3 separate regions of the Homo sapiens genome follow, and all the other regions are linked to region 3. Evidence: promoter capture Hi-C in 16 types of primary human blood cells and fetal thymus (Javierre and others, 2016). All regions are on one chromosome and are shown on one strand. Each heading gives the region's core, a stretch centred on a gene start or on the middle of the fragment in contact. The rest is flanking DNA. Distances are from core to core; before and after follow the strand shown.

Region 1 (4,907 bases), core at 1,283-3,782, 420 kb before region 3:
AGGCCCTGAGCAGAGCTGGGGTGTCTCTCGGCTCCCTCTACCTCCCAGCGGAGAGCGGGACTGCCTGGAGAATGGCAGCCTCACCTGCCTACCTGCCCACTAAGGGCTGAGGAAGCCCCCACAGCCTCCAGGCCCTACTGGCTGGACACAACCATAACCCCAGGTGACCCTGGTCTGAGGCTCTGTTAGACATCCCGACTCTTGAGGCCCAAAAGTACACTTCTGAAGTACCCTCAAATATCCCTTACACAAGGACATCCAACAGGGGCCTCGTGTACCACACCTGGGTAAAACAGGCCCAAATGGCCACATACCAAGGATAGAAGAAAGCCTTCTGGGTAAAAAATATCTACTTCCTCTTTCCACAAAGCTTCCTTCAAACTGTCACATTAACAGAGCCATTTCTAAGAACGCACAAGTCTCACCCTCGCAGACTGTGACCTCTGACTCCCAAGGCTGAGCCCTAGACACTGACCAGCACCAACACAGGAAGTCCTATCCCACAACTTCCTGCAACAAGCACTTAGTGGCTAGTGAATGACCAAGACAGACCCCACCCTCAGGCAGCTCGGTAAACATGGGGAGACAGAATCAGCTTTTATTGGATATGGAAAAAGGTCCCAAAGCTGACCAAATCCAGGCACTGTGAAACATTCTTGGGGGTGGGGGCCAGGAAGACTCCCTACTCTGCTGCTCAATGTCCTTTCTAATCTTGTCACTGAGCTGACATTCCTCCACCAGAGATCCTGAGGGTTTTCAGAACTCCTCTACTGAAATGCAGTGTCTCTGGGAGTGGTATTTGTAGAAGACAGGACTGGAGCCTAGGAGGAGGAGGTACCAAAAAGGAAGGCAGGAATGGAGCAAAGTCCAAGTATCTCCCAACAGCAAATGTGAAGCTCTAAAAAGAAGCCAGACAGATGAGAGGGTGAAGTCGAGGCCTTCTGACAAGCAGGGTGACCTCAGGCAAGGGGCGTCCCCACGGCTCCTGCCACGCATTACAGGTGGAAAATGCCAGTGCGCAGGGCCGTGAGAAGGCTTCAGTAGGAATCGGTCACTTTATGCTACCACCTTCCTCCCCACTTTGGGAGAAGGGCCAACATTTCCACTCCTAACAACGCTGTGCCCTGTTCCACTCCTAACAATGCTGTGCCCTGTTCCACGTCCTCCTCAGACTGGGCCCTACTGATCCTGGGCCTTGGATCAGTGGCAGAGGCCAGCAAAAGTTGAGAGCAGCAAACGCATCTTTTTCACAATCCAGAGTCTTAAGTCTGCCCGCTTTCCCCTACCCCTTACCTGGCAGGTCCAGTCCCTGCCAAGTGCCCTCTCATGGTTTTAGGGCATAGTTTGGTATTCTTTGCATGAATTGCCAGGAAAGTTTGATAACAGGGCCGTTTCCAGGTTCCCCTGATGAAACAGCTCAGCCTAAAGTTCCTGGGCCTTTTGTTAAAAGAACGGTCTCCACCCTCCAGCGGCTTCCACTTCCTACTTCCGCACTGTTCCAATTTCCTGAGTAGGTGGGAAGAATACCCCAAGTGGGGGGAAATGCAATACAAATGTATAGCCCTGAGTCAACTCCTGGTTTCAGGGAAGAAAGAGGCCTTCCCAGGCATGGTAAATCACATCACCCTGACAGTGACCTGCAAATGTGATCCCACCCCACTTCTTTCTACATCTGAGAAAACAAAATATGGAATTAATATCTTATGCAACCCAGATGCCTCCAGGGCCAGTAAGCACAATAAATGAGTGCAGCTGGGCGGGGCTGAGGCTGGGGCTGACAGGACAGCATCTGCCCTGCCCCCAAGAGAGGCAGGCTCTTCCCACTCCAGCCAAGAGTGGCCAGGCAGGAATGTGGGCCCAAGAGCTGTGAGCTCTGATGTTCCATGCAATGCCAGAAACCCAGATTTTTCTGTGAATTCCCTGATTTTTAAAGGACGGTAAACTAATTAAAACAAAACAAAACTGTCATCAACCCACCACAAGGCAAACAAAACACATCTGCAGTTGAACTGGGCCTGCAGGCTACCAGCTTGAGGCCTCTGTGCTACCCTACACCAAGTAATTTTTTCTCAGAAGGCTGACAAGGCAGGGAAAGACCGTATTATCTTTCTACCAGTTCTTTTTTGAGGGGAGCTCATTCCCTTGCATTTTCCACAAATAAAACAGAGGCTCAGAGAGGTGCAGTGCCATTCCCAAGCAGAGGCAGCAGGACTAGACCACAAAGAAAAAGTAAGGCACTCATAGGAAAACTCCTTTCACCAGAATTGAAAAGATAAATAGAATTCAACTCAGCTGCGCAGGGAAGGAACCTTCCACGTTCTGCCTTTGATGTCTGCAGAACTCAGCTGCTTGGGAAGACCCAGGGCCCTGAAATCAATTATCCAAATGACAGCCCAGAGTTCCCATAAATGAACAGGCAGACCGTGACACTGGGCTCCGGCTCAAGAATGCCGTCAGGAAATGCTTGTGGCGAAAGAATCATACTTTGGACAAATAAGGGCAAGGGAGCCAGGCACACTCTCCAGGAGGTTTCAATCAGCGTTTTGACTTTAAGATACTGTGGTTGCTTTCAAAGCAGGAAGTGATCCCTTTGAAAGTCAGCTCAAATGCCTAGCACGTAGAAAGACAAATGGAAGTCAAGCAGCTCCTCGCATGTGGGGGGTCTCTCTCCTGCTGCCACGGGGCACGAGAGCTATTTAGGAAGGCTGTCCAAAGTCAGGGCAGCCTGGGATCCCAGACCCATTAGGCAAGGCTGGAGAGCAGAACTGACCGGGACCACACTGGGCAGCACTGGACTTGGGCTCCAGGACGTCCTCAGCACAGCACAGCAGTTAAGTGTTGGAAACCCAGCTCTGATACCTTCTTGCTGGATGACATTGGTGCTTCAATTAACCTCTGTCTAGCAGTTTTCTCTTCTACAAACGATCTCACAGGGTTGACATAAAAATATGATGAAAGAACGTACAGAAGGCACACAGCACAATGCTGGGTCTACCAACAGCACTCAAAAGCAGCTATGGGTCTTTAACAATCTCATCTTTCATCATTATTGCTGGAAGCAGAGCAGCAGCGTCCAGAGGCAGCAAGTTCCAGCCCCCAGGATGGAGTTGGTGTTGCTTTCAGGGACCCAAGGGAGGAGAAGGCTGCTCTGGGGGTCAGGAGGATTGGGCCACTAGGCTCCCCTCCTCCCCGCCCCGTGAGCATACCATGTGCTTCCTCTCTCCCTGGATGTCTGACCTCTCCTTTCCCCTCTCCCACCACCTCCAGGGAACCTTCACTGACCTCTCTTTGCCATCCTAAGGTATTTATACTCTATATTTTTGTGGTTCCCAAACACCCCTGATCATAAATGCCACCCAAGGTACTTGTGAAAAATTCAGATTCTAGCAACCTGCCTCATTCCTGATCAGAATCCCTAGGGCAGGGTCTCCAACCTGAGCACTTTGACATTTTGGACCAGATAATTCTTAGTTGTAAGAGGCTGCCCCGCACATTGTAGGGTATTTAGTTGCATCCCTGGCCTCTACTCACTTGACGCCAGGAGCACCATCATCCCCAAGAAACAACAAAAATGTCTCTGGACATTGCTAAATATCCCAAAAAATCACCCATTGGTTTGGGCATCACTGAGGTAGATCAAGGATGTAAGTGTAAAAAAGCGATTTAAACTCTGAGGTTTCCAAAAGCCCCATTAAAAAAGCTCAGACAAGTCAGACTGGGAGAAGATATTTGCAGCACTGGACCCCAAAGAAACAGGATCCAGTATATGAACTTTTGCAAAGTAATAAGAAAAAGGCAAATGTGTAAGTAAGATGCAATCAAGCAGTTAAAAGATTAAACTCAAAAGAGCAATACACATAAAAACATGCTCAACGTACCAGACATTAGGAAATACTGAATAAAACAAGGTACCATATCATACTCACCAGATTTGCAATAATTAAAAGGTTGGACAGTGCCAAGGGTTGGCAAAAATCCAGACTTCTGCAGGGAGTAGAAGTTGCCATAACCACTCCAGAAGGGACTCCTGCAATATCTAAGGAAGTAGAAGATGCTGTCCCAATTCCCCTCCTGGGAATAAACTCTAGGGCTGAGCTCCCAACAGTGGGTAAGATCTTAAAGCCATAGCCCTTGAGATGGCTGGGTGGGATCTAGGGAGTCCAGAGCCCCCTCATTTGCCAAAGTGAAAATATGATTGTCTACGTGCCCCATGATGTGGCAAAGGCTGGGCAGCATCGCACAGAGAAACTCCCACGCACGGGGAAAGCGTTCAAGGATGTTCACATTCGTCACAGTGAACACCGCAAACCCTCTACATGATCATCAACAGAATATGGCTCCGGCAGCGGCTGTATGCTTCTAGAATGGACACTCTACCACCGGAAAATGTCTGAACGAGAGCTATTTAGTTGTGGATTGATCTCACAAGCATAATGCTACGTAAGCAAAAGCAAAACATACAAACTGTACAGCACCATTTACATCACGTTTAAAAACACACCAACAGCGCCTTGTTTAGGGACATGCACAGCTATAGTAAGAGTAATACCTGGAAAGATGGACACTTGTGGTTCTCAATGCTGGTTGCACACTAGAATCACCCAGAGAGCTCTTCAAAGTCCTACTGCCTGGGCCACACCCTGGCTGGGACCCAGGCACCAGTACTGACCTCCTCAGGTGACTCCCTCTGTAGCCAAGCTTGAGATCCACCTGGTGACCCCAAATGCTTACCTTTGGAAGGGAGAGGGACAAACAGAGAAGGCACAAAGGGGCCCCACAGGTACAGGTCATACTTTATGCCTGGGCTGAGCCTGGTGGCACAGGTGAGTTTGTTGTATTATTCACAATTTAAAAGCTCTCAGGTACTTCAGAATTTTACCAAAGAGCATTGTCATGGAAGGCAGAAG
Region 2 (4,591 bases), core at 371-2,870, 400 kb after region 3:
AGAATATTCAACATCAAATGCCTAAGCTAATTTCCAGGCTGAGAAAGGTAAACCATCCTTCTCCTGCCTGCAGTGCTTCTATCGGTCCTGAAAGAGACAGAGGAGGTAAGGGAGAAGAATTGGTACGAAATGGTGCAGAGCTGGTCTCAGAGGGCAACAACAGCCAGCCCTCCATGACCACACTCCCACCGTGCACTCACGTGCCCCTCTTGAAGCGGCTCTGATCCTGTGACCTAACCAGTTTCCACCTGGCTTCTCTCAGTGCGTTGCCATATAGTATAATTTTTTGTTTGTTTGTTTCGTGTAGGGTTTTGTTGGTTCTTTTCCAAGTATCAATCAAAACTACATGCCAACGTCCACTCCTTGGAAATAATTAAATGACATGACGTGCCTGATTTTTTCAGCTGGTGATGCACTGTAATTTGCATCTGCTGAAGGAATTTATCTTAAGTCCTGAAGCCCAGCCACTTGAGACAACTGAGGTGATTTTTCTGCTCTGCTTTTGCTCATGCGGATGGTGCGTTATTGTTAAACACAAAAGTGGACTAATTGCTTCATTCTGCAACCTACTCCGTGAAGAAAGCTGCTCTTCTTTGTGAAGAGAATATGTTCATGTTTTGTTCATGAATTCCATGCAATTTCCCATCCCCTTGTTAAGTAATGTAGCTTCTTTATATTGGCAAAATTCCCTTTATCTTGCTGTGACCTGCGCTTTGTCCTCCCGAGCAGAGCAAATCATCTGTGGTTTAAGAGCAGCTTTGGATTCAAGTCCCCTTTTCTCCTGTCGAGGGAAGTGAGTCTATGAAATGGCCTTCATCTGAAAGCCACAGCGAAGCACCTCCTAGCCCAAGTCTAGCTGCTGTGTGGCAGCTCCAGCGGCGTGAACTGTGACTGCCCTGCAGACACCTATCAAGCGCTGCGTCAGCTATTAATAATAAAATCAACTCTTCTCCCTCCCCCCCGCGAGGGGGGTTCCCTCGTCAGGGCCCAGAACCCGCTGGGGAAGAATCGGGGCTGGCGTGCGAAGGAGCTGGCGGCAGGGGGTGTAGGATGCGGTGTTCCCGAGGCGACAGATGAAGGATTTGGGTTGTGTGGGAAGTGAACTGCGGAATTCCTCCCCTTGGTTTCTGAGGGGGGCTCTGAAGGAGCCAGATTAGGATGCAGAGCGCAGCCCGGGCGACCGAGGGCGAGGAGGCGAGCCAAGGACATCAGCCCGAGGGCGCCTCGAGACGCCCCGCGTGGACCGCGCTCCCAGCTCCTCGGCCTCGCCTTCCAACCATCCGCCCACCGGCCCCAGAGCAGCGTGCCCACTGTGAGCGCCCCACCCTGCGTCTGCAGGTGGGTGGGTCAGAGAACCGCAGGCACAGAAGAGGGTACCCAGCTTCCCCTCCGCCAGCCCCGCGACCGCGGCGCGCGCGGCCTCGATCCGGGTTCCTAGGGGCGGCGCGCGGGAGGGGGCGGGGCCTGCGCGGCAGCGTGGGCGCCAGGCGCGCGGGAGGAGGGAGCCGGGAGGAGGGGGCGGGGCCGCGCCGCCCGCGCCGCGCTGGGCGCTCTCGGCCAATGAGCGGCGTCCACATGCCGCGGCGGCGGCGAAAGGGGAGGCAGCGGCCGATAAATGCTATTAGAGCAGCCGCCGCGGAGCCGTCCCCGACGCCACCTCCTTTTCCTTCGCCGCAGTTTCCTCCGCCGCTGTCGGGCGTGCGGCGCTGAGGGACCCGGGCGAGCGCGCCGCGCACCGCCCCGCCGGCTCGCCTCCCTCGCCGCGTTCCGCCCTCAGTGGTCTGCCGGGCGCCCCCTCCTCCGGCCCGGGCGGGGCCTCTGATCGCCTCAAGAGAGCGGGGAGGGGGCTCGGGGGCCGCGGCCTGCCCTCCCGGCGGGCGGCTGAGGGCGAGGGAGGCCCTCCCTTCTGGCGAGGGGAGGGAGGGTGGGTCAGGAGCCCCCAACCCGCCCTGCGGAGCTCGGGGCCGCGCGAGGGGCGGTTGTCTGGGGGAGGGGGCGCGGGGTGATTCAGCGCCCGGCGAGGCGGAAGCGGCCGCAAGAGGAGGAGGGGAGAGCCCGTCCGCGCCTGGGCTCCCGGGGTGGCACGAGCCCGCGGCCGGAGTGCGAGGCGGAGGCGAGGAGGCCGCGGGGACGGGAGGCGAGGCCGGCCGGGCCCCCGAAGCCATGGAGAACGCGCACACCAAGACGGTGGAGGAGGTGCTGGGCCACTTCGGCGTCAACGAGAGTACGGGGCTGAGCCTGGAACAGGTCAAGAAGCTTAAGGAGAGATGGGGCTCCAACGGTAGGTGCAGGGCGCTCCGCTGCAGGGGCCCGGCGCGGCCGGGAGAGCCAGGGAAGATGGCTGACCGGGCTCCACCTCGTGGGCTTCGGCTCCGCGCCCGCCGACAGCTGCGGGCGGAGGGTCGGGCCAGCGCGCCGGCCCCGCGGGAGAGAAAGGGGCTGCGGTCCTCGCCTCGCCTTCCCTGGACCTCTTCGCTTCTCGGGCCCTCGACCTTTTCGGCGCGCAAGGCTCGGAGGCTTCTCTCCAGCAGCAGCCGGCCCCGGTGGAGGGAGGGACGTGGCTTCTGCAGCTAGGTTGAGCCCGGCAAGACGTTTTCTCGTCCCCTGCCGATTTATGAGGAGTCGAGGTCGTTGGAAGGCCTCTGACCGTTCTTGTCCTACCCAAAGTTACACATCTGGCAGAAGTGATGACATCGCTGAAACCACTCCTAGGTTCAGGAGCCCGAAGTGATTTCACGCTTAGGGCTAGACCTCAGGCCATTGATTACAAAGAGTGCATGCTTCCTTGAGATATCTTCGTGGTATGCCCTCTGCTAAAAAAATCGGATATTCTTATAGCTAGGTCTGTGTTTTAAAGATATTGATGCTTAGAATTGTAGCAGTTCTTTTTAGAAAAACGAAGTGCTAAAATGTCTCTCTCTTTTTTTTTTTAACCTCCCTCTTGACACATTGCTTGACGAATTTCTACATTCTACAGAGTTACCGGCTGAAGAAGGTAATCTTAACATGCTGTTTCTGTTTTTTTTCCTCTGTTGGTGTGCTGATGGTAAGATGACAGTTAAAACACATGTGTTTGTTTCTTACAGGAAAAACCTTGCTGGAACTTGTGATTGAGCAGTTTGAAGACTTGCTAGTTAGGATTTTATTACTGGCAGCATGTATATCTTTTGTAAGTATAAAAAAATTTATTTTCTTTCCCCCCAAAAGCTGAAAGTATTCCATAGATAAATCAGAAAACAAATGATGTCCATTGGGTGAAAACATATTTGGAGTTGCAAGCTGTGTCTCTATGTTTAAAAACAATCTGGGCATTTTAAAATTACAAAACAAAACACTTGAAGCCATTGGTATTCAGAAAATAGATGCCTGACATTTACAGTGTGGTTAGGAGTTGTCCCAGAGTGTGGCATGGTCTTAGAAATTCTTGTGGTTTATCAGCTTTTAATATCAAAAAGTTCTTTTCTGGGAAGCCTTTAATGTTTTGGGTTCTTCCATTGTTATCGTGTTGTAAGATCATACTAAGATGATGTTGGACTCTTTGTAGTCTGTAAATAGAACTTACAAAAGGAATATTCCAGTTGCTTTCCCTTCCTGGTAATGGCAAGGTGACAGTTGTTCCTGACGGTGACAAGAATGATGACGGCTGTGATGGCACCCTTGTTGACCAAATTTGGTCACTGACCTTTAGGGTGGTATATTTATCTAAATTGGACCCCTGTCTTAAGTGATTCTTAGGTTGAAAGAACAAGGTTTAGTACAGTTGGTTCTAGATCTTAAAGGAAAAAAACCAGCATGGTGTTTTTTCTTGTTCTGTGTGTGCTTACCCACTTGAGTGCTATATGGTTGCTAAGAAACTAGTGAAATGCAAAGAACTACAGCAGAAAAAGGGTGTTGGGGTGGCAAGTATATTTCTAGGTTTTTAACTTTTTTTTAAATGTTCGGTATTAATTTTTTGTTGCATTTTTTTTCTTGGGCAGTAGATTGCTTGCTAGTTTTCCTAAAAATGGTCAGGAATAGGACACAGATGTTCCTAATTCTAATAGCATGAGATGCCTTTTATTCTTGAATTACGTTATTCTTACAAAAACCACGATAAGTGAAATTCACCCAGTGCAGTACTTCTTTCTAGTTAAAACAAAATTGACAAAACTTCACGGTTTCAGTTCTTGTACATATATGTATGCAGGTCCCAGGGATCAGCCTCAGTCTTTGTGAGAACCATACCATAGAGGGCTATTTTGAGAACGAAATAAACAAAGCAGTGGGCATTTATTTAGTTCAGATGAGGAAAAGATTAAATTTATACCCATCTTTTAAGTAGATAGTGGCAGCAGTAAATAAATTTGTGGAATAATTTTTACATAAATCCTGCTATGATACTTTATTATGCCATATTAGCCAAGTATTGTGTAGCCATTAATAATTCAGTCCCCAAGAACCTTTTCTGTGGTTTTCATTGATTAAAATGGGGACTTACATAGCAAACCATTCAGCATTCTGAGTCAGTCACAATGTACCTCTGATAAAATGTTTCTTCTTGATTGATTAAAAAATTTTCCCCCAGAAAATGGCTGCTGTTTTACCAATTAAG
Region 3 (4,201 bases), core at 1,314-3,813:
CTGGTGGGCAGAGGGCCCTGTGGTGGTTAACCCATTGTGGACCAACCCCACTGCGGCTTCTGTATAAATGGTACTTCTGTCAACAGATGTGACACCCCACAGCACAGGGATTGCAACAAAGACAAGGGTCCTTTGAGACCAAGGAAAGGGAGGAGGAGATGCTCTTTAGCCCTGGCACCAGATGACTGCTGGCTCTGGCTTGCCACCTCCCTCTTTCCTCCAAAACCAGCCAGATAATTGCATCAAATGATGATACCCCCAAATACAGAACGGATGTGCAACCTCGCTGAAAATAAGGAAAGAAAAAGCCACAGAGTTTAACCTGGGATTTCTCCACCTTTGACACTGCTCATGTTTGGGGCTGGATCATTCTTTGTTGTGGCAGGACTGTTCTGTGCACTGTAGGATACTGAGCAGCTCCCTGGCCTCTACTCACAAGACACCCCGTGCCCCATCCCCCAACTCAGTTGCAACAAAAATGCCTCCAGGCATTGTCAGATGTACCCTAAGGGGCAAAACTGCCCTCAGTTGAGAACCACTGGCTTAAATGGATTCTGAATCCCTGTCCAGGGCAAGCTGGCTCTGACTTGGAACTATTCCTGCAACCAAAGAGGAAACAAGCAAGCAAAAAAAAAACAACAACAACCAACAACATCACAAAATTAAACAACTTTTCAATGCTAGAGCTGGTTCGCTCCCAAGCCCCCACCTGGAGAGTCAGTATTATCTCAAGACTGTGACACTGATAATAAGAAAGTTTTGTGCATTCAGCAGTATTGACTGAGCATCTGCTATGTGCCAGGCACTGTTCTGGGCACTGAGGACACAGAGTGGATGTAAAAAACCAAGCCCTTGCTCTCAGGTTGCTTACCCAGGTCTGGGAATCATACACACCAGACAATTGCACTCCCTCAAACACCGATTAATCACTCTAGCAAGGAACCAAAACTGGATTCAGGAACTTAAAACCACACCCCCTACAGCGAAGACCTATTTGGCACTTACGGCCTCGGTACTTTACACACACCACCTCATCGACTCCTCACAGCTGCCCTAGGAGATCAGCATCCCCGTTTCACAGCTGGGGACACTGAGGCTCACGAGGTGAAGGAGGGGAACTATAGCCTCCAGGTAACCACAACCATCCCAGAGCTCAGGACACTGTGGGAACTACCACCCCTAACAAGCCTTCTTTGCCCACTAAGTCGGACTGTCTTAAGATCTCCTGTCTTTGGGTTTCAGGTGGACTCTGCCCTGGGGGCTGGTATTTTCCTGCAAGGCCACCAAGTGAACCAGCAGGACAGGACAGAGCCCACATGGAGAAGGAGAATAGAGGCTCAGGTTGCACCCTTTACCCGGGACCCAAAAGGCAAAGGGCAGGGGCAGTGGTGCTGGCTTCTAGTTCCCATTTTCCATCTGGGGCCTTGGCTGGACTGGGCTAGGCTGAGGGAGTGCGGGAAGAGGGTCTGAAAGTGGACCGCCTTCCCAATGCGCCCAGGAACTTCCACACGACATACAGGGGAGGGGCTTCCTCTCGTAGAGCCCAAACTGAGGGAGGAATTGGTGCCAAGCTCTGTATGTCTGATGTCACCTCACAAAACAGCTCCCCCGACAACCCTCACCCCTGTCCTAAAAGGAGGAAAAACTTTAGGTGGTTTCCCCTAGAAAGAGGCCCTGGAATTTTGCAACTCCATCTTCAAAACCCTCTCCTTGTCCCCGCCTCACCAGGCTTCCTACCCTTGGAGGGGGAGATGGGAGTCTTTGATCTGGAATGGGCGAATTCTGAGGGAAGAAGGAAGGGTTTGTAGGTCCCATGAGGGAGAGGCTGGAAGCGTTCAAAGAGAAGGCTTATGAAATGGGGGGATTCATTGTAAGGGGAGCGAGTTGAGAGCCATCAGAAAGCGCCAGGGATGAAGGACTTTGGGGAAGAAGGGGCAGGAGGCTTTGGGGGAGATGGTGGATTACAGAATGCCTAAGGGAGATGGAAGATCATCCGTGTTGGGGGCACGGATGATCAGGGGGCATTTGGGGGATATGTAGGACTGTGAGGTGTCTAGGGAGAGGGAGGATTTGGGGAGGACAGGCAGGATGTGACATGTTTAGAGCGGAGAGGACTTGGGAGTGGTCCGGGAAAGGGAGAATTTAGGGTGAGTGGAGGGAAAGAGGATCTTGGGTGCCTGGGGAAACAGTACTTAGGGGTGTCTAGGGCAGAGATGGTTAGGGGATGCTCGGGGGAAGGAGGATTCGGGTGCGCGTGGGGCTGCGGGCCGCCTCCCCCCTCCATTCCGGCTCACCGAAGAAGGGCGGCAGGTGGGACACCGCCTCGAGGAAGGGCCCGGTCTCGATCTGCTTGTCCGCGGGCAGCGGCTTCAGCAAGTGTTCGGCCAGCAGCGCCATTTCGGGGTCGAGGCCCGCGGTGATGCCCCAGCCGGCGCCGCGGGCGTCGACACCGCCCCCCCGGCCGCCGCCGTCAGCGCCGGGGCCGTCACAGCCGCCCGCCGCAGGCTCCGGGGACGCCAGCGTCGCCACTTCCGCCCGCACGGCGCCCTCGTAGCCGAGCGCTCAGCGCCGCCCGCCGGCCGAGCGCCTAAACTGCCGGGCGCGCCGCCCCGCCCCCGCTCACCGGCTCCCAATCCGCGCCCGCCGCCGAGGTCTCCGCGCCCCCATTGGCCGGGGGGCCGGCCGGGGGCGGGACGCAGAGGAGGTGCGCCGGTTCATGGGTCCCGGAGGGCCCAAGTGAGCCGCTCCCAGGTGAGTCTTCCCCAGGTGTGCCTCCCGCCGCCCCCGGTTTGGCCCCCCAATCCGGGCGGGCCGACTCGGGCCAGGTCACAGCTCACAACCCGCCCACCAGCTCGGGTTACAGCCCCACCCAGCCAACGCTCCCCAGGACCCCCGTTTCCCCCAAAATTGTACCCCAGTAACCCCAAGTGACCTGGGTGGACACTGCTCTCCTGTTGGTCACGGTTCTCTTTCGCTACAACCGACGAGGACGCTCGATTGCTTGATTCTTGGTCTTCAATGACCTTATACCTGTTGAACACTGCTGAAGTCACAGTCTAACTCAGCCACTGCCCTGCTGGACAACTCCTGCTTCCCGAAATCTGGGGTCCAGTCTGCCCTCAACAGTCTGATGTTACCTGTTGTGAGGCAGAAAAATAGGGCCTGGAGGCAGGGAACATAAGGCTGACTTCCTAGACCTAAATCAAAAAGCACCTTAGCAATGACAGGAATGTAAACGGCTTTGCAACTTCACTTCATCCTCTCCATTCACGCCCTTTACACTTTGTAACTTCACATTCATCCTCTCCATTTACACAGACCACACACTCCAAGAAACATCCTCTCCATTTATACTTTGTAACTTCACATTCATCCTCTCCCACCAAGTAACATCCTCTCCATTTGCACATCCTCTCCATTTGCAATAGGGCACATTCTGAGTAAATGACTCTGTGACTTCACTTCATTCTCTTCATTTACATAGAATATTCACCAAGTAACCAATGGGAAACCTCTAGAGTATTGAGACCCTAGAAAATTCTGTAAGCAGAGCTCTTGAGCCTCTACGCTCAAGCCTGCTCCCAAACTGTGGGGTGGACTTTTCGTTCTCAGTAAATCCTTGCTTTTGCTTTCCTTGCTTCGTTTGTGTGTTTTCTCCAAGATGCCAAGTACCTGGACACCTTCTACTGGTAACAGCTGGAGCCAGCCCAGTTTATACCAATTCACCCACAACCTGGACACTTGTTTCCCAAACCTAATGTCTCTCCAACAGCCCAGGGTCCAGCTTCTCACACCTTGAATCACAAGTCATCTCAGCCACAACCCACCTAGATGCTTATGTCCTAAACCCAATGCCCAGCTTATGCAAAAATCTAACACACCATTGTTGAGAGCCTCTTATTCATTCCAGAATAAACATTTGCCATCCTTCCCACCCCTCCCCCACCCTCCACCACTATGTGTCATGCACTGCACTGGGCACTGAGGATAAAGTGAATGATACAGCAAAATCCCTGCCCTTGTGGAGCTGACAATCTGGTTGGGAACACAACACAATGCAATACACAAATTGGTAAGACAACTTCAGACACTGATGAGTATGTGAAGAAAATAAAACAGTGTAGTGACGGAGGATGACTGAAGCCTGTTGGCTGAGATCGGATGTAGGGGTTTGGGAGCAGTACCTCTGAAGAGGTGATAT

The links. Contacts are between HindIII fragments. The CHiCAGO score rates a contact against its expected background, and 5 or more counts as called.
Region 1: a contact is called between a fragment that was not itself captured here and the fragment with the promoter of GLTP in region 3, in 2 of 17 cell types (M2 macrophages and neutrophils). The highest score is 7.5, in M2 macrophages.
Region 2: a contact is called between the fragment with the promoter of ATP2A2 here and the fragment with the promoter of GLTP in region 3, in 1 of 17 cell types (fetal thymus). The highest score is 6.1, in fetal thymus.

Annotation. Positions count from the first base shown.
Region 1 is chr12:109,460,856-109,465,762 of GRCh38, forward strand. All of the region lies in intron 2 of KCTD10 (potassium channel tetramerization domain containing 10), which reads right to left. Among named protein-coding and RNA genes, the nearest start is that of KCTD10, 14 kb to the right of the region's middle. RefSeq lists enhancers at 1-89, 90-896, 1,703-2,509. The HindIII fragment of the contact is 4,328 bases long and covers 369-4,696 here.
Region 2 is chr12:110,279,627-110,284,217 of GRCh38, forward strand. ATP2A2 (ATPase sarcoplasmic/endoplasmic reticulum Ca2+ transporting 2) reads left to right here and starts at 1,621. Exons shown (of 20, transcript NM_170665.4): 1 at 1,621-2,281; 2 at 2,978-2,995; 3 at 3,087-3,169. The coding sequence starts at 2,164. RefSeq lists enhancers at 1,129-1,198, 2,316-3,070 and silencers at 1,289-1,888, 1,979-2,488. The HindIII fragment of the contact is 3,608 bases long and covers 1-2,254 here.
Region 3 is chr12:109,877,978-109,882,178 of GRCh38, forward strand. It overlaps GLTP (glycolipid transfer protein), which reads right to left and starts at 2,564. Exons shown (of 5, transcript NM_016433.4): 1 at 2,295-2,564. The coding sequence starts at 2,397. It overlaps LOC124903012 (a long non-coding RNA gene), which reads right to left and starts at 3,424. Exons shown (of 3, transcript XR_007063455.1): 1 at 3,384-3,424; 2 at 3,138-3,197; 3 at 2,921-3,030. It also overlaps a transcript of TCHP not described here. RefSeq lists a silencer at 2,272-2,821 and an enhancer at 3,146-3,647. The HindIII fragment of the contact is 8,722 bases long and covers 1-4,201 here.